4 separate regions of the Homo sapiens genome follow, and regions 1, 2 and 4 are each linked to region 3. Evidence: promoter capture Hi-C in 16 types of primary human blood cells and fetal thymus (Javierre and others, 2016). All regions are on one chromosome and are shown on one strand. Each heading gives the region's core, a stretch centred on a gene start or on the middle of the fragment in contact. The rest is flanking DNA. Distances are from core to core; before and after follow the strand shown.

What was found. The method cuts DNA at HindIII sites, captures the fragments that hold promoters and counts their contacts. A CHiCAGO score of 5 or more calls a contact.
Region 1: a fragment that was not itself captured here is called in contact with the fragment with the promoter of ACTN1 in region 3 in 2 of 17 cell types (total B cells and naive B cells); the score reaches 8.8 in total B cells.
Region 2: a fragment that was not itself captured here is called in contact with the fragment with the promoter of ACTN1 in region 3 in 1 of 17 cell types (total B cells); the score reaches 5.6 in total B cells.
Region 4: a contact is called between a fragment that was not itself captured here and the fragment with the promoter of ACTN1 in region 3, in 2 of 17 cell types (total B cells and naive B cells). The highest score is 5.7, in total B cells.

The regions. Positions count from the first base shown.
Region 1 is chr14:67,916,088-67,921,309 of GRCh38, reverse strand. All of the region lies in intron 7 of RAD51B (RAD51 paralog B), which reads right to left. Among named protein-coding and RNA genes, the nearest start is that of RAD51B, 99 kb to the right of the region's middle. The HindIII fragment of the contact is 3,371 bases long and covers 1,354-4,724 here.
Region 2 is chr14:67,851,996-67,856,657 of GRCh38, reverse strand. The region is part of intron 4 of RAD51B (RAD51 paralog B); the gene reads right to left. Among named protein-coding and RNA genes, the nearest start is that of RAD51B, 35 kb to the right of the region's middle. RefSeq lists an enhancer at 3,414-3,483. The HindIII fragment of the contact is 3,490 bases long and covers 133-3,622 here.
Region 3 is chr14:68,977,238-68,982,487 of GRCh38, reverse strand. It overlaps ACTN1 (actinin alpha 1), which reads left to right and starts at 3,186. Exons shown (of 22, transcript NM_001130004.2): 1 at 3,186-3,536. The coding sequence starts at 3,432. ACTN1-DT (ACTN1 divergent transcript) reads right to left here and starts at 2,806. Exons shown (of 4, transcript NR_073422.1): 1 at 2,704-2,806; 2 at 2,301-2,560. RefSeq lists a silencer at 3,129-3,178 and enhancers at 2,320-3,318, 3,319-4,318. The HindIII fragment of the contact is 14,649 bases long and covers 453-5,250 here.
Region 4 is chr14:67,877,253-67,882,248 of GRCh38, reverse strand. The region is part of intron 5 of RAD51B (RAD51 paralog B); the gene reads right to left. Among named protein-coding and RNA genes, the nearest start is that of RAD51B, 60 kb to the right of the region's middle. The HindIII fragment of the contact is 939 bases long and covers 1,092-2,030 here.

The DNA of each region.
Region 1 (5,222 bases), core at 1,790-4,289, 1.1 Mb after region 3:
CTTGAGCCCAGGAGTTCAGGGCTGCAGTAAGCTATGACTGTACCACTGAACTCCAGCCTGGACAACAGAGATACCCTGTCTGACATGACATGACATAACAAAATACGGATTCCTAGCCCTCCTCTAAGGACTCTGATTTTCCAGGTCTGGAGTGAAATTCAGGAATCTGTTAGGGTTGTTTTTGTTTGTTTACAAACTTTCTCAGTGATTCATATGATCACACATATTTGAGAAATACTGTTCCAGGAGAAACTGACTAAACTCCAGCATGTAGCATGCCTGCTCTATGAGATGGTTCTCAATGTTTCCCCGGTCTTCCCCATTACTCTATGCTACAACCAAATACAAATAAATGTCTGCCATTTCCTCAAATGTTCTCTATCTCCATTTCTTTCTTCTTACTACATATTTTTCTTAAGATAGCCTTCTCTCTTTATTCATTGGTAAATATCATCTATAGGACCTTTAATCTTCTGTTTTACCACCTCTACTTGTTTATATGTCAATTTTTTTTTCCTGGGGACTAAGCATTATCGGAGGGTGGGAATGATGCCCTAACTTGTCCTGTATTCCTAAGACCAAGCACAGAGCCTGTCATACAGCACATATGCCATCAATGTTTGTTGACTGGATTAACTAATGTTCTCAGACCCCTGGGTGACCACATATTACAGAAACTTAACTTCATAAAATTGTACACAGTATTAGAACTTTAAAATAATAATATGCATTTAGATTACCTTTTTCTCCTCTTGAAGTTTTTCTTTATGGGCCATTTATCTGTGCATATATTAACTGGCCAAATGAGAAATGAGATTAGACATAACCATAAACCATATTTATATAAGAGAAATACTGATGTGATACAAACTGCTACATTTTATATGAGTATATAAAAGAAAAAAATGCAAAGATGAAATAGATTTATAACTAATTAGGCAACATTCTTTAAACAGTAAAATTTGTATTTTTTAATCAATCTCCAACAACAAAATAACGTTAGAGTTGAAAAAAATTCAACAAGAAAAAAAATCCATTATTAAATTGGAAGAACATTACTTTATTGGCATAAGTCAATGGAGTACAGAAAACGTATCTTGGGAGGGTAAAATAATTATTACCTAAGAAATTCAGTTGCTTTTCATCTAAAATTAACAACTAAAGTTTTTTCCTTTGTACCGCTCTAGTCATTTTAAAAACAAAATATTCTTATAAACATGATAGCACCATACATACTAAAATAAAAACTGATGAATGCTTATCAATATATAGATGGATTTTAAATCCTTTAAACTACAATAAATGGATAACCCCACTCATTCCCTGGAGAAAAAGAAAAAGAAAAAAAAAGCTTTCTTTTCTAGAATATGACGGAAACTATTCTTCAGCTAATCCAACAGTCAGCCCCAAGCTCTTGCTTTGCCAGTTCAATTACAGATGCTCAAAGGAGCTAAATACTAGGTTTCTGAGCCTCCATTCCAACTATGGGTGATCTAGCAGCAGAGAACTGAAGGGGAGAAAAAGTATTTTTTCCTCAACCTTCTTAAGTATGTAGTTAGCACAGACTTCTATAACAGAAGGCAGATTAACAAGAGAAAAACAGATAGGTTTATTAACGTGTACGGTGCATATCACACAGGAAAAGCCCTCAGTGAAAAGTAACTCAAGGCAGTGGTTCATGAGTCTGGTTTATATAGTATATCCAACAAAGAACAATAAATTTTAGAGAAGTGACAAGGCAAAGGAAAGCAGTCCCAGACTTCCAGAGGTGGGAAACCGTGGAAAGGTAAATATATGGAAGGCACTAATGGAGTAAAGTCAGCTTGCAGATTCCTCTGGCGCCGTCTCTGAGATGATAAAGGGTTTTTTTCCAGTAAAGAATTTACATCCTGTCTTTAGGGGAGAAAGGGAGGAGGGAGGACAGCAAGACATTTTTCTCTGTAAATCTGTGTCCTGCTTTTAGGCAGAGAGCTCTACTGCATCTTAACTGTCTTCAGCTCGAGAATCCTTCACATTTTGGGGAGGCATATTCTGGTTTCCTACAGTACTAAACTTTACGAACCTTCACAGAATACTATAATTGCCTGCCTACTTGCATGTACCCCTTATTACAGTGTAAGCTCCCTTAAGTTAGGGACAGTTTATTCCCTAATGTCTGAACAAACTATGAAACTCTTTCAGAATAATCACATGCATCAGTTTAATTTGGTTTGTACAGACATCTTCCCTGGAGTTTCCACCTTCCTGCTCCAATCTGTACTAGTCATCTCTAGGCTTGCTACTCAGCTGTCATCCTGGACTTTTGTTCACCATCATCTTGCAAACTTCCTCTCTCTCTCCAGTGTTACATTCCCCATTTTCCTAGATTTCATGCCTTCTTTCACATACTTCAATAGCTTCCTGTGGGGAGATGTGTAGGAGATAAATTTTTTGGCACTTTGCATGCTAAAAAAATATCTTTAGGCTATCCTCATAATTGATTGACTATTTGGTTGGAATTAGAAATCTATGTTTGTCATAATTTTCCCTCAGCACTTTGAAGGTATTGCTTCCTTGTCTACTAGCTTCCAGTGTTAGTTTTGAGTTAAGTCTGACACTCCACTAATCCCTATTCCTTTCCTTGTGACTTGTTTTTACTCTCTGGCACTCTGAAATGTCCTGGTAATATGTCTTTTTCCCCCTCATTAATGGTGCTGAGCACTTTCAATTTAGAAACAGATGTCCTTCAGTTCTGGAAATTTTTCTTGCATTGTTTCACTGATAATTATTTCCCTTAGCTGAGCACAGTGGCTCATGCCTGTAATCCCAGCATTTTGGGAGGCCGAGGCAGATGAATCAACTGAGGTCAGGAGTTTGAGACTAGCCTGGCCAACATGGTGAAACCCTGTCTCTACTAAAAATACAAAAATTAGCCGGGTGTGATGGTGCATGCCCACAATCCCAGCTACTCGGGAGGCTGAGGCAGAAGAATTGCTTGAACCCTGGAGGTGGAGGTTGCAGTGAGCCAGGATCATGCCACTGCACTCTGGCCTGGGCAACAGAGTGAGACTCCATCTCAAAAAAATAAATAAATAAAATTATTTCCCTTCCCTTTTCTTTGATCTCTCTCTCTCTCTGAAAATCTTTTTAGAAAGGAGATGGGCCTCCTGAGTAGATTCTCCATTATTTTTAATATTTCTGTAATATTCTTACATCTCTTTGGCTTTTATATTCTGGGAGATTTCTTCAATCTTATCCTCCCATCCATCATTTAAAAATTTTTTTCTATCACATTCTGTGAGCTCTTTTTCCCTAAGTATCTCCCTTTTGCAATCTCTTATTCTTGTTTCATGTAGCAATTTATTCTCTGATCTCACAGAGATAATGGTCAGATTCTGTGCTCAGTAATTTACATTCACCATATTTAATCATCACAACCAACCCATTGGTAGATGTCATTATCTCTGCAAGAATGCCAAACAGACATCTCAAACTCAATATATATATATATAGTACTGAACTCCTGATCTTCCCCCTCAAATCTGCTCTGTCCACAGTGTTCCTCTTATCAGTTGATAACAGCTCCATCCATTCAGTTCCTGAGCCAAAAACATAGACTCCTTTTTGTTTCATATAACATACTCAAATCGTCAGGAAATCCTGTTGTCTCAATCTCAAAAATATATACAAAATTCAATGATTCCTCAGCATCTTCACTGATAATACTCGTTAAGTTATCATCATCTGTGATATGGTTTGAATATTCTCCCACCCAAATCTCATGTTGAATGTTAATCCCCAACATGGGAAATGGGGCCTAATGGAAGGTGCTTGGGTCACAGGGGCAGATCCCTCATGGCTCGCTGCTGTCTTCACGCTAGTGAGTTCTCAAGAGATCTGGTGGTTTAAAAGTGTTGGGCACCTCACCCTCTACTCTCTCTCTTGCTCTTGCTTTTGTCATGTGATGGGCCTGCTCCCACTTCGCCATCCACCATAAGTAAAAGCTCCCCTGAGGCCTCCGCGGAAGTTGAGCAGATGCTGGTGCCATGCTTCCTGTACAGCCTACAGAATCATGAGCCAATGAAACCTCTTTTCTTTATAAATTACCCAGTCTCACGTATTCCTTTATAGCAACGCAAGAACAGCCTAAGAAAATCTGTTGCCTAGGTTACTAGGAAAAGCTCCTAATGATTCTCCTTTATTTTATTCTTAATGCCCTGCAATCTATTCTCAACTCAGCAATACCAGAGCAAGCCTTTTAAAACTGCATTCAAGTCTTTGCTCAGATGTCACTGGCTCAACGATGCCAACCCTTACTACCCTAATTCTGCACCTCCTTTCTTCTGTATTCAGTATCTCCCTTACCCTGCTCTACTTCCTCTCTGCTTACAGCAATTATTATTTTTAACATACAATTCCTTTTTATTGCCTCCCCCATCCTCCGTCCTCTACCATTAGAATGGAAACTGCACTAAGGGAAAGACTGTCATTATTTTATTCACTGGAATACCCCAACACATAGAAGAGTGACTAATAATATTTGTTGAATTAAGTAATAATAACTACTTTATACATGAAGGAAGTAAGGCCTAGAAGATTAACTTGTCTCACATCTAAAACATGAAAAATTTGGTTAGAACTCAGGTTGGCCTGGTACCAAAGTGCACATATTTAACTTAGATTGCCTCTTATCCATGTCTGTGGCTAAAATAAATAAAGCCTCCATAGACTTCCAAGCCCAAGCTTTGAGGTGGGTTCTTATGTTTCTAATAAAAAAAAAAATATTACTGTCAGGCACTGTGGCTCACGTCTGCAATCCCAGCACTTTGGAAGGCCAAGGCAAGGAGGATCACTTGAGGCCAGGAGTTCGAGACCAGCCTGGGCAACATGGCGAAACCCCGTCTCTACAAAAAATACAAAAATTAGCCAGGTGTGGTGGCATGCACCTGTAGTCCCAGGTACTCAGAAGGCTGAAGTAAACTGTGAGCTCCACTACACTCCAACCTGAGCGACAAAGTGAGACCAGTCTCAAAAAAAAACAAAAATGAAACAAAACAAAAAATACTTTAAGTAAATTTAAAGGGAAAGTGTTAATGCAAATGTATGAGGCAATAAAATATGATGGCATTTAACTCAACACAAAAGCCAGCAGATGGAAATTTCTAGCAAGCTTGGAAATTTCTTTGAGCCTTCAACTATCTATCTGGGAACCAGATTGCCAGAGAAACTTCTATTTAAAGATT
Region 2 (4,662 bases), core at 628-3,127, 1.1 Mb after region 3:
TCAAGTTAACTCTCCTCACATTCAAGATGAGGGCAACTGGACAGGGTAATCTGCCAAGCCAATACCTGGCAGAAGACAATTTAAGGATGCCTGGCTCTGATCTGAAACCAGTGAGCATGTTTTAAAAAAGCTTCATTAAAAAATATTTTTTAATGACCTCCAGCATCTAACTACTTGTCTCCGTTTGCTCAACAATTATGTAGAAATATGAGTAGGTCTTCAGACCTACAAAATTCATTTTTAAAATAACTAACATTCTAAATCCTAAAGCCAAAACCATAAAAAAGGAAAAAAAAAAAGAATCTCAGAAAGGCCAGGTTGCATTGCATTTTGCCTTGTGAAAGAAACCTTGATCTTAAATTACTTTACACCAACATGTGGAAGAGTTTATGTCTTGGATTCTCTCTACCACTCCCTCCTTTTTCATATTGACAGCTGCCGTTTTGGAAGTAAATGGGAAGGGAGAGAGGAAGAGTAGGGATGGGAAAAGAGCAGAAAAAGCAGGAGGGAATGGAAATGACAAGTACCCCAAGTTCCACCATTAACAAAAATCAAACAGTATTAAGGGATATAATCATTCATTTAACAGCAGTTATTGAACATGTGCCACATAAAAGACTCTAGTAAACCATTACAGAGCAGAATGTTTATTTCTAAATTAGAGAGTAAGTGAAGAATTGGGAACAATGGTCCAATCAACCGCATATGCTAAATGTCTGTATTAGAACAGAGGCCTAGTTATCTGCCTTTCAAAACATAGGGCAGGATAAATGAATGTCAGCAGACTGTACTCAAGGAACATCCATTTGAAATCTCTCTCTGGTTTTCCTGCTGCTGTTACAACTTGTGGGGCACATCTGAACCTCACTGCAGCCTGAAGAAGACAGGATCCACCTTTGCAGACATGGAGACCCATGAGCAAAAAAATAAATGTTTGCTGCTGTTGTCAGCAGCTAAAATCAACTAATAAATATCTATGTCTTACACTTAACTGTTTCATGTACTTCTGTTACATGGCTCGTGCTTATAGGCATTTGAGTTTACAACCCCTGCCTTATTATTTCCTGTGATCATGTAGGCCACAGCTAATCCTGCCAATTATAAAAAGAACTATAATAGGCCGGGTGCGGTGGCTCAAGCCTATAATCCCAGCACTTTGGGAGGCCAAGGTGGGCGAATCACGAGGTCAGGAGATCCAGACCATCCTGGCTACTAACACAGTGAAACCCCGTCTCTACTAAAAATACAAAAAAAAAAAAATTAGCCAAGCGTGGTGGCGGGCACCTGTAATCCCAGCTGCTGGGGAGGCTGAGGCAGGAGAATGGCATGAACCCGGGAGGCGGAGCTTACATTGAGCCGAGATCGCACCACTGCACTCCAGCCTGTGCAACAGAGCAAGACTCTGTCTCAAAAAAAAAAGAACTATAATAGTAATTGTTCCAAGAAAAAACTAAGATGCTGGCCAGGCGCGGTGGTTCATGCCTGTAATCCCAGCACTTTGGGAGGCCAAGGCAGGTGGATCATGAGGTCAGGAGATCGAGACCATCCTGGCTAACATGGTGAAACCCCATCTCTACTAAAAATACAAAAACTTTGCCAGGCATAATAACTATGCAGATATTACATCTCTCTGTGTTGAACTGAGTTCTCTGGTCCTGTACTCTAGATTATATTACAGTATGAAAATAATAGTTTTTTAAGATACAGGATCTCACCCCAGGCTGAAGTGCAGTGGCACAAGCATAGCCCACTGCAGGTTTGAACTCCTGGCTCAAGTGATCCTCCTGCCTCAGTCTCCTAAGTAGCTGGGACTATAGGCATGCACCACCACACCTAATTTTTTTTTTTTTTACTTTTTGTAGAGCTAGGGTCTTGCTATGTTACTCAGGCTGGTCTCAAACTCCTGGCCTCAAGCGATCCTTCTGCTTCAGCCTCCCAAAGTGCTGGGATTACAGGCATGAGCCACCACACCTAGCTGAAAATACCTTTTTTGATGATATCTCTGAATACTTTTTTTTTTTTTTGAGACGGAGCCTTACTCTGTTGCCCAGGCTGGAGTGCAGTAGTGCAATCTCAGCTCACTGCAACTTCTGCCTCCTGGATTCAAATGATTCTCATGCCTCAGCCTCCCAAGTAGCTGGCACAACAGGCGCATGCCACCACACCCAGCTAATTTTTGTATTTTTGGTAAAGATGGGGTTTTACCATGTTGGGCAGGCTGGTCTCAAACTCCTGGCCTCAAGTGATCTGCCCATCTCGGCCTCCCAAAGTGCTGGGATTACAGGCGTGAGCCACTGCACCTCACCTGTATCTTTAAATATAACTTTAATTTTACCTATTCACAATAGCATCTATCTTATGCATTCTCAGCATGGGTAATATTAACCCCAAGGGTAAAAGTTGTTTTGGAGGAAGGGGAAGATTTTACTCTTTTATGTATAAAGCACAGATATTTATACAGTACAAAAACAGATATACAGTATATGTGTGGTAGAAAAACTTCATTGGAGGGTGTGGTTAAGAAAAAATTGTTAAAAAGGCTTCTTAGGAGACAATAATGAAAAAATGAATGAGGAACACTGATCTATATTATCTCATATGAGAAGGCTACCGAACTGATTTGATCTCCACATAATACAAACTTTAAGGTGTTTGCTGTTCTCAGGGAATGGAACAATGCCCTGTAGTTCACTTCCTTCAGCAGGTCCGCAGAGTTGGTGTCTCTGATTTCTCCTCTGCTGCTTCTGCTTTAAGAATGAATAGCACTTCTCTACTTCCACTTTTCATGTTGGTGTTGTAACTGAATATGTAAGCATACACAGATTCAGTGACATTCACGTAAGTCAAAACTGATGATAAATAACCTAGGAAATTTTTAAGTTAAAGTCAGGAAAGAGAAACTATAAAAATGACAGCAAAATATTTCCAGATTGATTCTTACTCTCTCAATCTCCAGATCCACTCTAAGTTCATTCAATCAGTTGCCTTACCCCACCCACCCACCAGATCTATCTGACATCTATCTAGGACACTAGGCTTGACCTTTTAACCAGAAACAAAGACTGTGCAATGCAGTTAATTAGGCACCTTCACTGACACCTGTATTTTATTAGTTCTCTACTGCTTCATAACAAATTACCACAAACTTGGCAGCTTGAACAGCATCCATTTATTATGTCACTGCAAGTCAGTTTTGACTTATGTGAATGTCACTGAATCTGGGTATACTTATATATTCAGTTACAACACCAAGATGAAAAGTGGAAGTAGAGAAGTGCTATTCATTCCTAAAGCAGAAGCAGCAGAGGATAAATCAGAGACAATCAGGTCAGAAGTCCAGATAGGGTTGGCTAGGTTCTCTGCTTAAGGTCTTACAAGGTTGAAATCAAGATCTCAGCTGAGCTGGACTCTTATCTGGAGGTTGGGAGTAAGAATCAACTTCCAAGTTCATTCAAGCTGTTGGCAAAAATCTATTTCTCTGCAGCTCTAGGTCTGAGGTTCCTTTCTTGCTCTTATCTCAGGGCCACTCACTGCTTCTAGAGGCTGCCTACATTCCTTTAATCATGGCCCCTCCACCTTCAAGGCAGCAATGGCATCCTGAGTCCTTCTTGGGTTTTAAGCTTTTCTTCCTTCCCCTTTTTAACAGCCAGAGAAAGCTCACTACTTCTAAGGGCTCATATGATTAGATCCAAATAATCTCCCCATCTTAAAGTCAACTATACCATATAACATATAATAATCATGGGAGTGACATCTCATCATATTCAAAGGTTCCAGGGATTAGGGCAGAACATCTTTGAGAGGCCATTTAAGAAATTCTGCCTACTACAACATTTCTGAGAACAGAATGGTCATAAAGTTTTTTTTTTAATTATACACATACACACATGCATGCGTACATATGTTTACACACATGCATATATCAGTGGTAGGCGGCCTCTAAGACTCAATGATGCTCACCTTTGTTATCCATGCCTTTCTGTAGTCTCCTCCCACATTGTATCAGGTTTGTCTGTGACTAATAGAATACTGCAGAAATGATGGTATGTAACTTCCAAGGCTTTGTCTTAAAAAGAAATTGTCATTTCTACCCTGTACTCTTGGATCACATACTCTGCAGAAAGTCAGCTGTTGTGTCATGAAGACACTCAAGCAGTCCTATGGAAAGGTTCACATCGCAAAGAACTGCCAACAGCCAGGACCAACTTCCCAGCCATATAAGCCATGTAAGGAAGACTTCTTGGAAGCTCAACCCCACATGGAGTCGGGGATCCCCACCAACCTTGGATCCCCGAGTTCCCTGGTGCCAGCTGTTATAGTCCCACCAAGGGAGGCCAGGTTTTTTCGCGTAGCTCTAGGATAGAAGCCATATCCATGGAGTTTAGGAGCAGTCAGACTGCAGGCCCTGCCTCTGCTGTTCCTTGCCAGGCAAGGCCACTGGCCTGGGCCCCCAGCACGCCCACTCCACCACCAACTGAGCACTCTGGTCAGTCGGTCACGGCTCTGGCTCTGTATTTCACTGGGTCAGAGCTCCCGGAGGTAACTGACAGGCCCACTGCAACTGCCTCTGTCAGGTCCTTGCTCCTGCTGCTCTCAGGCTGGGGAGGGAGTGAAGAGCCTGAGAGTAAGTAGACCTCCAGCAGGATGCAGCTGCCTTGAGAG
Region 3 (5,250 bases), core at 1,937-4,436:
TGTTGTGGGGATGCTGTCCTATCCATTGTAGAACGTTTAGCAGCATTCCCAACCTGCATCCACTGGATGCCAGTAGGAACCCACCAGCTGTGATAACCCAAAATGACTCCAGACATCAACAAATATCCCTTGTGAGGGGGAGCTGTTAAAATATCCTAGAGTTGAGAACCACTGGGGTTAAAGGCACAGGTCTGGGAGTCACATGTACTGGTGCCATTTTGGACTAGTTACTACCTCTCTGAGCCTCAGTTTGTTTTCTCTGTAAGACAGAGAAACACCTCATAGGAGGAACTTAATATAGGTAAAGTGCATGGGATCTCTCAACAAAAACACTTATCTTTTCTCCAGACTCCTAGGTCTTTCAGTTTTATCCCCTAAGTATTTCTGGTCTATCCACACTTTTCCATTTCGACCTGGATTATTGCAACAGCTTTGCAACTGGTGTCAAAGCTTCCAGCCAGCCTTGCTCCCCTTAGATCCACACTCCACCTGGCACATGAGGCCTTCATGGTCTGGCTGCTTTGCACCTCTCTAGCCCCGTCTCTTGCCCCTCCCGGCCTTGGATTTCTAGTCCAGCCACGTTGAGATGCTAGACATTCCTTTGTATACCATGCAGTTTCCTGTCCTTGTGCATTAGCTTGTGCTGGTCCTTCCTTCTGGAGTAACTTCCCACACTCTTTATCTGGCTGACTCTCATTCTTTAACGTTCACTTAAGTTTCACCTCCTCCAAAAAGTTAAGCCTGGAGCCTCCTTTCCCACGGGGTTCAGTGCCCCTCATCTGTTCCAACAGTACACTTGTCAGATCTCTCTCCTTGCGTCTAACTCATGACATCATATTTTTGTTTCTGTGTCTGTCTGCTGGGCTGTGTGCGACAGGGACTATGGCTTTTTCATCTCTGTATACATCTAGTACATTCCCTGATATGCAGATGGTGCTCAGCAAATATTTATTGGGTGAATGAATGGATACAGCACTACCATTACCCTCTGTGTTAGGTTTAGAGCCACAGTTTAGAAGCGGTGATAAAATGGTCCATAAATCAGCTGTCTCTGTGGCTCAGAAGCAGTGCTTCCTCAGCCAGGGGCTTTTGGAAGGCACAGTGCTGGAGGGTAACACTCATATGAATATGTGTGGTTGACGAATGATGCAGCCAGAGACACCATCCGATATCTGCTCACAACAGCAGCAGTGGCTCTTCTGAGAACCAGGGGGCACTTTCTTCACCTTTTCCATGGGTGGCTTTCAGGTATCCACCATCGCCTGGAGAGAAGGTAGAGGACAAAATCCAGCCCATAATTCAGGGCCCTTCCTGTCAGTGAACTTCTTCTTCTAACTCCTTCACTCACTTCTGAATTGACATATTTGCATTTTAAATTTAAATTTAAATTTAAATTTTTGCAGTTGATGCAGCCATTCATCCTACAAATACAGTCCTCCCTTAGTATTGGCAGGGTATTGGTTTCAGCATCCCCATGGATACCAAAATCTGAGGATGCTCAAGTCCCTCACAGTCAGCCTGGGTATCTGCGGGTTCTGAAGCCTGTGGATATAAAGGGCCAAATGCATATATGTATGTATATATTTTGAGACAGTCTTGTTTTGTCACCCAGGCCGGAGTGCAATGGTGAAAATGCACCTCACTGCAACCTCGACCTCCCAGGCTCAAGGGAGTCTCCCGCCTCAGCTTCCCAAGTAGCTGGGACTACAGGCGTGTACCACCATGCCCGGCTGATTTTTGTATTTTTAGTAAGGACGGGGTTTTGCCACGTTGGCCAGGCTGGTCTCCAACTCCTGGGCTCAAGCGATCTGCCCGCCTCAGCCTCTCAAAGTGCTGGGATTACAGGTGTGAGCCACCGCCACCGTGGCCAGCCTCAAATCCATAAATTAAGCTCTACTATGTGCTGGGTGCTGGGGTGGAAGACTGGCACATCTGTTGTTCACAAGACAGTGCATAACCTAGGAGAGGTTTATTTGCTACTGTTCTTCGGAACCGGGATCCCATAGAGGAGCCTGCCAGAACGCGAGGCCTGCTCCTTCCCGGGCATTAGCGCGTTTAGACTCTCCTCTTACTAAGCCCAGGGAAAGGAGTCCTGGCAGGTGGCAAGCAGAAGTTAGAGCTATTTAGTCACTCCCGCCCTCCATCCTCCTCCAATGACAATAAGGTTTTGTTTGTCAGGCATAAGGTTACCGGATTGGCCTGTGAAGTCCAGAAGCTCTTTCCGCGCTCGGCTCTTTGAGCCTCAGTTTCCCCATCTGTCAGGCGTGTGTATGTGGGAGGGGGGTACGGAGTAGATTTACCTAGATCACTCGGGGTTGTCCCTTCCAGTTTTGAGGGTGATGTCGGGGTGTCTGTGAGGAGGAGGGAGGACCCTGCCACGCGAAGGTAGTTTTGGTCGCAGCAGCCAGCCAAGTGTGCCCGCGGAGACCGGCAGGGAATTCCGGGAGGCCCCGCTGTGGAGCGGTCCCCAGAGCCCGAGGGCGAGCTAGAAGAGTTCCTGCGGCGAGGCGGGAACGCTCGGTAGCCTCTGAGAGCAGTTCGCTGGCGAGAAACCGGGTTCCTGCAGGGCAGGGATCAGCCGGGTCGCGCCTTGTAGGGTGGGGTGGGGTGGGGCGGGGCCGGGGGGGGCGGCGGTGGAGTCGTGAAATTCCCAAGAAATTCCTTTCCATTGCCCCACTCCGCCCCCTTTCCTAGGGTGCCGACCTGCCCAGACCCAGGTTCCCTGGGAAAGAGAAAATGAATGTTCTTCGGGTTTCCTCGCGTCCTTTCTCCAGCCCCCTCCCACCCCGGGGTTTGGAGCGCGCGTGGGAGCGCAATAACGGTGGCGGGGAACGGGTCCAATCCCGGCGGCTCCTGGGGTTCCCAAGCGCGCTGCCACTCAGTCCCCGAGCTCGGGGAGGCGTCTCCCGGCTTCGGTCCCGTTCAGCTTAAGCTGGCGTCACATGAGCCGCGGGGGAACGGGCACCGCGGGAGTGGGCGGGGGTGTGCGCGCCGGGAGGGGGCCGCCCAGTCCACCTATATGCGCCGCAGCCCGGCTGACGGATGCCAGGAATTCCCAATGAGAGGCGATGGGGGGAAGTTTGGGCAACTCGGCCTGGCCAATGGAGAGCCTCGGGAGGGCTCTGCCCCTTCCCCCCGCCCCCGCCCGCCTCGGCTCCCGCAGCGCTAGTGTGTCCGCCTAGTTCAGTGTGCGTGGAGATTAGGTCCAAGCGCCCGCCCAGAGGCAGGCAGTCCGCGAGCCCAGCCGCCGCTGTCGCCGCCAGTAGCAGCCTTCGCCAGCAGCGCCGCGGCGGAACCGGGCGCAGGGGAGCGAGCCCGGCCCCGCCAGCCCAGCCCAGCCCAGCCCTACTCCCTCCCCACGCCAGGGCAGCAGCCGTTGCTCAGAGAGAAGGTGGAGGAAGAAATCCAGACCCTAGCACGCGCGCACCATCATGGACCATTATGATTCTCAGCAAACCAACGATTACATGCAGCCAGAAGAGGACTGGGACCGGGACCTGCTCCTGGACCCGGCCTGGGAGAAGCAGCAGAGAAAGGTTAGCAGCCGCCCCCGCCCGCTGCAGCCCCCAGCCCCCAGCCCCCAGCCCCGACCCGCTCTGCCTGCCGGGCTCTCGGCTCCGGGCTCTGAACCGGTTCCGGGCGCGCACGGGAGGGGGCGGGGGCGGTGCGGCCGTTGCGAGGTGGGGTGTTGGGTTACAGGCGCCTGGCGGAAGCGGGAGCGCCCCTGCCCCGGAGCCCGGGAACGCCGGGCCGGAGCGCGGGGAGGTGGCGCCGCTGGCGGGCAGGTCTCCTTGGGGGTCCGTGGTCCAGGCCACCCTGCGGCTGTTGCAACCATCCCCGCGTGGGCTGTGCTCGGGGGCGGTGGTCTTCAGGCTGGGGCTGAGACCCCGGCTCGGGGCTGCTTGCTCCGGATCGATTTTCCCTTTTCTTCCGCCCCTGGCCACCTCTCCATATGGCGTGCGGTGGCAGCGCCGCTTCCTGGGCCGCCCTGGGTTCAACCTGAGCGGCGGGCCTCCCGGGACCCTGCTGCCCCTTAGGCGGAGGGGAGAGCGCCGGAGAGATCGGCGGCCGCCTCCGGATCTGCCTGGAGAAGGACCAGCTGGAGTGCGGCTGGGGACGAGAAAACTGGGGGGCGTACGCGGGCTCCCCCGCGGGCCCTGTGGGGGCGGGGTCAGGACAGCAGACCGTTTTATTGCTTAACTCAGTGGGTTGGAAGCTGTAACCCCGACATGGGCTTGCGCTACGTCCTGCCCCTCCGACCCCCGGGAAAGGTGGGCAGCTCGGTTCGAGTTGAGGGGCTGCAGAACGAGGGTCAGTCTTAGGGGATATTTGGGGCCAGTCACTGGGGATCCCTACTTAGCCACGGAGCTGCATCCCAGGCAGGCGCGGTGTGCCGGGTGCGCGCCCCGCCACGGGAGCTGGGCTCGGAGCTGGCGATGGGACCCGGGCACAGTGGCCAGTGGCAGGAAGAGGTCAGAAACCACTCGTGGTGGTGGGGGGAGGGCGCCTCAACCCTACCGCTGCTTCCTGCCTGCGCGGTGAGCCTGTGCCCCCAGGCGGCCACGTACCCTGAATACCCCTTTCCCTCCCCCTCCTCCCGGCTGCCCACTTCCATCCGGTCCCTCCCCGTTTCATACCCTCCCCACCCCCAGGCTGATCTGGGAATGGGGTTTTGGGTGGGGGGGGGACAGGATGGCGCGTCCCTTTGGATAGTGCGGTTAGGGCTGGGCTTGAGGGAGAACGCTCATGTCCAAAAATGGTAACATTCATTCCCTTTTTTAAACTTAAAAGGGGGGTAGTTTATAGAGCCGACTGAAGTTTTTTTTTTCAGCCAAAGGCATCCTGTATTAGCTCACTCAGGAATCCTAGGCCCTGAAACGGAGCCCTTTTACTCACTTCATCAGACAGGCAGAGGTAATCTAAAACACACACAATGGGCTTCCTCAAAGCAGGATGACCTGGGCCGCGGTGCCCAAGGCCTATGCAGGGCTGGGCCCTATACAGCGACATCGGTCATCTACATCGGACATGGGAAGGTCCCCTGACTTCGAACTGACTTCTTTGTAATGTGCCAGTTGCTTAAACTCCCCCTCTTCCTGTCATCTTCCTAGTAAGAGCTGAAGACTGGGGGCTGCAGACAGTCCCCCACTCACTTGGCTTATTTCCTGGGACCATGGGTGCTGTGGGTGGAACTGAAAAGTGAGTGAGTAATTTGGAGATCCCTATGGGGCACCAGGCAGAAGGCTCTTT
Region 4 (4,996 bases), core at 312-2,811, 1.1 Mb after region 3:
ATAATCCCAACACTTTAGGAGGCCAAGGCAGGAGGATCTCTTGAGCCCAGAAGTTTAAGACCAACCAGGGCAACATACCAAAACCTTATCTGTACTAAAAATTAAAAAATTAGCTGGGCATGGTGGCATATGCCTGTGGTCCCAGCTACTCGAGAGGCTGAGGTGAGAGGATTGCTTGAGTCTGAGGGGTCAAAGCTGCAGTGAACCATGATAGCACCACTGTACTCCAGCCTGGGTGACAGAGTTAGGTGAGAACCTGTCTAAAAAAATAAAAAGTCAAGGGAAGAGAGCTTTTCAAGAAAAAGTGAGTGATCAACTCTTTCGAATGCTGCTATTGGGTTGGATAAAATTTTTTAAATCAGTTGCATTATAGAGCTGGAAACTTAAGCCTGGATAGAGTGAACTCAAGAGAGAATGAAAGAAGGGATTTCCACTTTAGCCCACAAAGGATTAACTGGTACATGAATTGCACTAAAATAATAAGTAGAAAATCAGACAGAATACATGAAATAAGAGTTTTCAGGTACTGAACAATAGAAAGCTTGAGACTGTAATCCTTGAGAGAAAGGAAACAAACACAATGAGCTTACAATCACCTCAGTTTGCTCCAGAGGCAGTTTCCAGGCTGCAACACAAGAAAGGGAAAGTAAACAGAGCCTGGTAGACAACCTGAGTTGAGGAGATGGGGATCGGAGTTTGGGAAAGCTAAGGTGGCTAGAACTTATGGGGCAGAGTACCAGAGAGGAAGCAGGTGTGCAGAGTGAGCACTGCAAAGATCTGCAGAGAGGGCCACTTGAGAACTAATCTGCACATGTGTGAAGGGAAACTACTTGAGGTTGAGGAAAGAACCACCAGAAAGTATCAGACTGAACACTTCCTAGTGCCCACACAGGGTGAGAACAGTTCGGGTTTACACAAGGTGAAGAATAAAGAGACCTTATTATACACTGGGCATTGGGCAGAATTTTCAGAAGGATTTTACCTTAGTAGTGAAGCTAAATAAGTTTCAGAATAAAAAACCACAGTCATGTGCTGCATAACGACATTTCAGTCAATGATGCATCACTTATACAACAGTGGTCCCATAAGCTTATATAGTATATTTTTACAATACCTTTCCTTTGTTTAGATACACAAATACTTACCATTGTGTTGTAATTGCCTATTCAATACAGTAACATGCTGTACAGGTTCATAGCCTAGAAGCAATAGGCTATACCATATAGTCTAGGTGCGCAGTAGGCTATACCATCTAGGTGCATGTAAGTACACTGTAGGGTGTTCATACAACAATGAAATTGCCTAACAATGCATTTCTCAGAACATATCCCAATTGTTAAGCGAAGCATGACTGTACCTGGGATTTTTCCATAACAACATAGAAAAGCAACCTGCAAAAGGATCAAACTAATACTAAAATGTACCTTAAAACAAAACCTAACACTCTTGAAAAACATATGTTAAAATCCAGCACCCACCAACAACGTAAAATTTACAATGTTTAACATCGAATTGAAAAATTACCAGACAAGTAAAGGAAGAGGAAAAGATCCATTACCAGGAGAAAAATCAGTCAATAAAAACAGATTTAAAAAATTATATATATGATGGCATTCATGGATAAAAACCTCAAAACGGCTATTATTAATCTTCTACATTTGCTCAAGGAGTTAAATAAAGCAGGGGTTGTCAAACTGTGCACTATGGCCCATTGCCTGTTTTTGTCAATAGAGTTTTATTAGAACACAGACATATTTTTAATATTCTGTTTGACAAAATAGAAGCACTTCTACTACATTCTGAAGTACAACCATTGTCTCAAGGAAAAACATCTGTACAATTGGGTTCTCAGACTAAGAAGTCACTTTTTCCATGGGAGACCATTTTTACTTGAAAGAATGATTGATAGATAAGTTATGGTTTTTCTGACTTAAGTATTTGGTAGACGTTTTCTCAAAATGAGCAAAGTAAGCCCGACACTTCAAGAAAAACAAGTGGCAATATTTATTGCCAATGATAAAATTCAAGCTTTTAATGAAAAATCAGATTCCTAAAAAACTTACATCTGCTACCATGAGTTTGACTGCATCCCAATACTTAAATACTTTTTGTTCAGATCAGTGGAGATACTAATGAAATTTTTTTATATTGAGTAATAAAATGTGTCAACATTTAGAACTCCATAAGACAGTGAACCAATATTTTCTGAGTGATAAATGCATAATATTACAAAATCATGCATAGGTAAATATCCATTAAGAGCCTAAGACAGATGAATAGATTTTAATGTAACTGTAGAAAAAATGCAATAATATGGTTTCAGATTCTATATCACAACTAACCTCTAAGCAACTATTACTCAATTCCTGGTGTAGTATCAAAGAAGCATATCTTTAATTATCTGAAGAGACTATTAAAATATTCCTCCCTTTCCAACTATAACCAGTATAAGGCCAGATCTTCATATCTCAACCAAAACAACAGAGTGCAACAGACTGAATGCAGAAGCAGATATTAGAATCAGGCTGTCTTCTATTAAGTCAGACACTAAAGAGATTTGCAAAAACATAAAACAACGCCACTCTTTTTTCACTTTTTTTAGTCAAAAATGTATTTATTTTCCATAAAAAATACATGTAAAGTCCAGGTGCAGTGGCTCACATCTGTAGTCCCAGCTACTCAGGAGGCTGAGGCAGGAGGCTCTCTTAAGTCCGGGAGCTGGAGGTTACAGTGAACTATGATCATGTCACTGCACTCCAGCCTGGGTGACAGAGCGAGGCCCTGTCTCTTAAAAAAAAAACAAAAAACAAACAAAAAATATATGACAGTCAGTTTTGTGTCAACTTGGCTAGTCCACAGTCTCCTGTTATTCAATCAAACACTAATCTATGCATTGTTATGAAAGGATTTTGTAGATGTCATTAATGTCCATAAACAGATGACTTTAAGTACTAGAGATTATCCTACATAATCTGGGTGGGCTAATTCAATCACTTGAAAAGCCTTAACAGCAGAGCTGAGACTTCCTTTAAAAAGATGAAATTCCACCTATGGACTACAGCTTAGGCCCTTGCCTGAGAGTTCTAGCCTGCCCTTTCCAACAGCCTGCCCTATGGATTTCAGACAACTCCACATCTGCATATGCCAATTCTTTGCAATAACTCTCTTAATATATGTTCTACTGGTTCTATTTTCCTAATGGAGCCCTGTTTGGTACAATATGCTAACATGTAATGGCCAGGCACAGTGGCTCACGCCTGTAATCCCAGGACTTTGGGAGGCTGAGATGAACAGATCACTTGAGGTCAGGAGTTCGAGACCAGCCTGGCCAACATGGCGAAACCCCGTCTTTAATTTAAAAATTCAAAAATTAGCCAGGCATGGTGGCAGGCGCACTGGTGGGCACCTGTAATTGCAACTATTCGGGAGGCTGAGTAAGGAGAATCGCTTGAACCCAGGAAGTGGAGGTTATAGTGAACCAAGATCACACCACTGCACTCAAGCCCGGCGACAGTGAGACTCCATCTCAAAAACAAAAACAAACACACAAAAAAACACATACCATGTAATGGACTTACTGCATAATAGATAATAGTTAAATATTCTTTAAATTTTCCAGTTTAAATTCCTAATATGATAAATATCAATTGATATAATCCACCTAGAGTTTAAGGGCCCTGAAAATTAAAACTTTAAAAACTACAGCCATAAAGCAAAATCTGAAAGATCAACCACCAAAGAAATCATAGATAACAAAAGATAGCATAACCAAAGTTGAAAGATAAATTATAGAATTATAGCCCAGGAAAAAAATCATATAAACATAAATATCCATAATACACAAAGTATTTATATATATCAATAAGAAAAAATGGACAAAGTGTATTTCTAGGTAATTTGCCAAAGAAATATAAATGGACAATGAATATATGAAAAGATGTTGGTTCACAATAGTTAAAACAATGAGCTATCACTTTTTTCCCGCAAGTATGACAAAATTAAAGAAACTAAAAACAGTGATGAAGGCTCTCAAAGTACTATTGGTTGAGATACAATTATGTAAAATATTTCTAGAGGAGAATGTGGCAGTTTATACAAAAATTTAAAATATATCCTTAATGGATTTCTGATGGATTAAAGATATTGACATAAAAGATAAAACTATAACTATATTAGGAAAAAACTGTAAGACAATATCTTGATAACTAATAGTGGGGGAAAACTTGTTAATTAAGATCTGAAAACCAATACCATTAGGCAACAACTTCAAATTTACAAATTTCTGGCCAGGCATGGCGGCTTATGCTTGGAATTCAAGCAGTTTGGGAGGCGGAAGCAGGAGGGCTGCTTGAGCCCAGGAGTTTGAGACCAGTTTGGGCAAGATGGTGAGACCCCAGCTCTACAAAAAAATTTTTTTAATTAGCCAGGCGTGGTAGCACACGTCTACAGTCCCAGCTATTTGGGAGGCTAAAGCAAGGGGATCCCTTGTACCCAGTAAGTCGAGACAGCAGTGAGCTATGATTGTGCCACTGCACTCTAGCCTGAGTGAAACCTCGTCTCTAATAAATTTTTTTAAATTATAAATTTCTCTTCAATAAAGGACACTACAAAGATGACAGATAACAGAGCAGGAGGAGATATTTTCAATGTGTAAAACTGACAAACAATATCTAGAAGACACACAAAAAGCTTCTGCAAATCAAGAATAAAAAGACTAGAAGCCCAATGGGAAATGGGATAAAGATAGATTCATAGACAGAAAGCCCAAATGTCAAACAGGCATTACTGAATGAATGAATGAAAACACTACTTGGATCTTTTCTCGGAGTCAATCATTTTTTCCAACCACAGTTCAGTGGAAAGAGGATATGAGTTCACCTCTCAGCTATCTTATTAGCCATATGATCTTGGGCAAATCACATGGTTTCTGAGTCCCATTTTGCTTATTTCTAAAATGAAGATCATAATACCCCGCTCCTTACCTGACAGTGCTGCT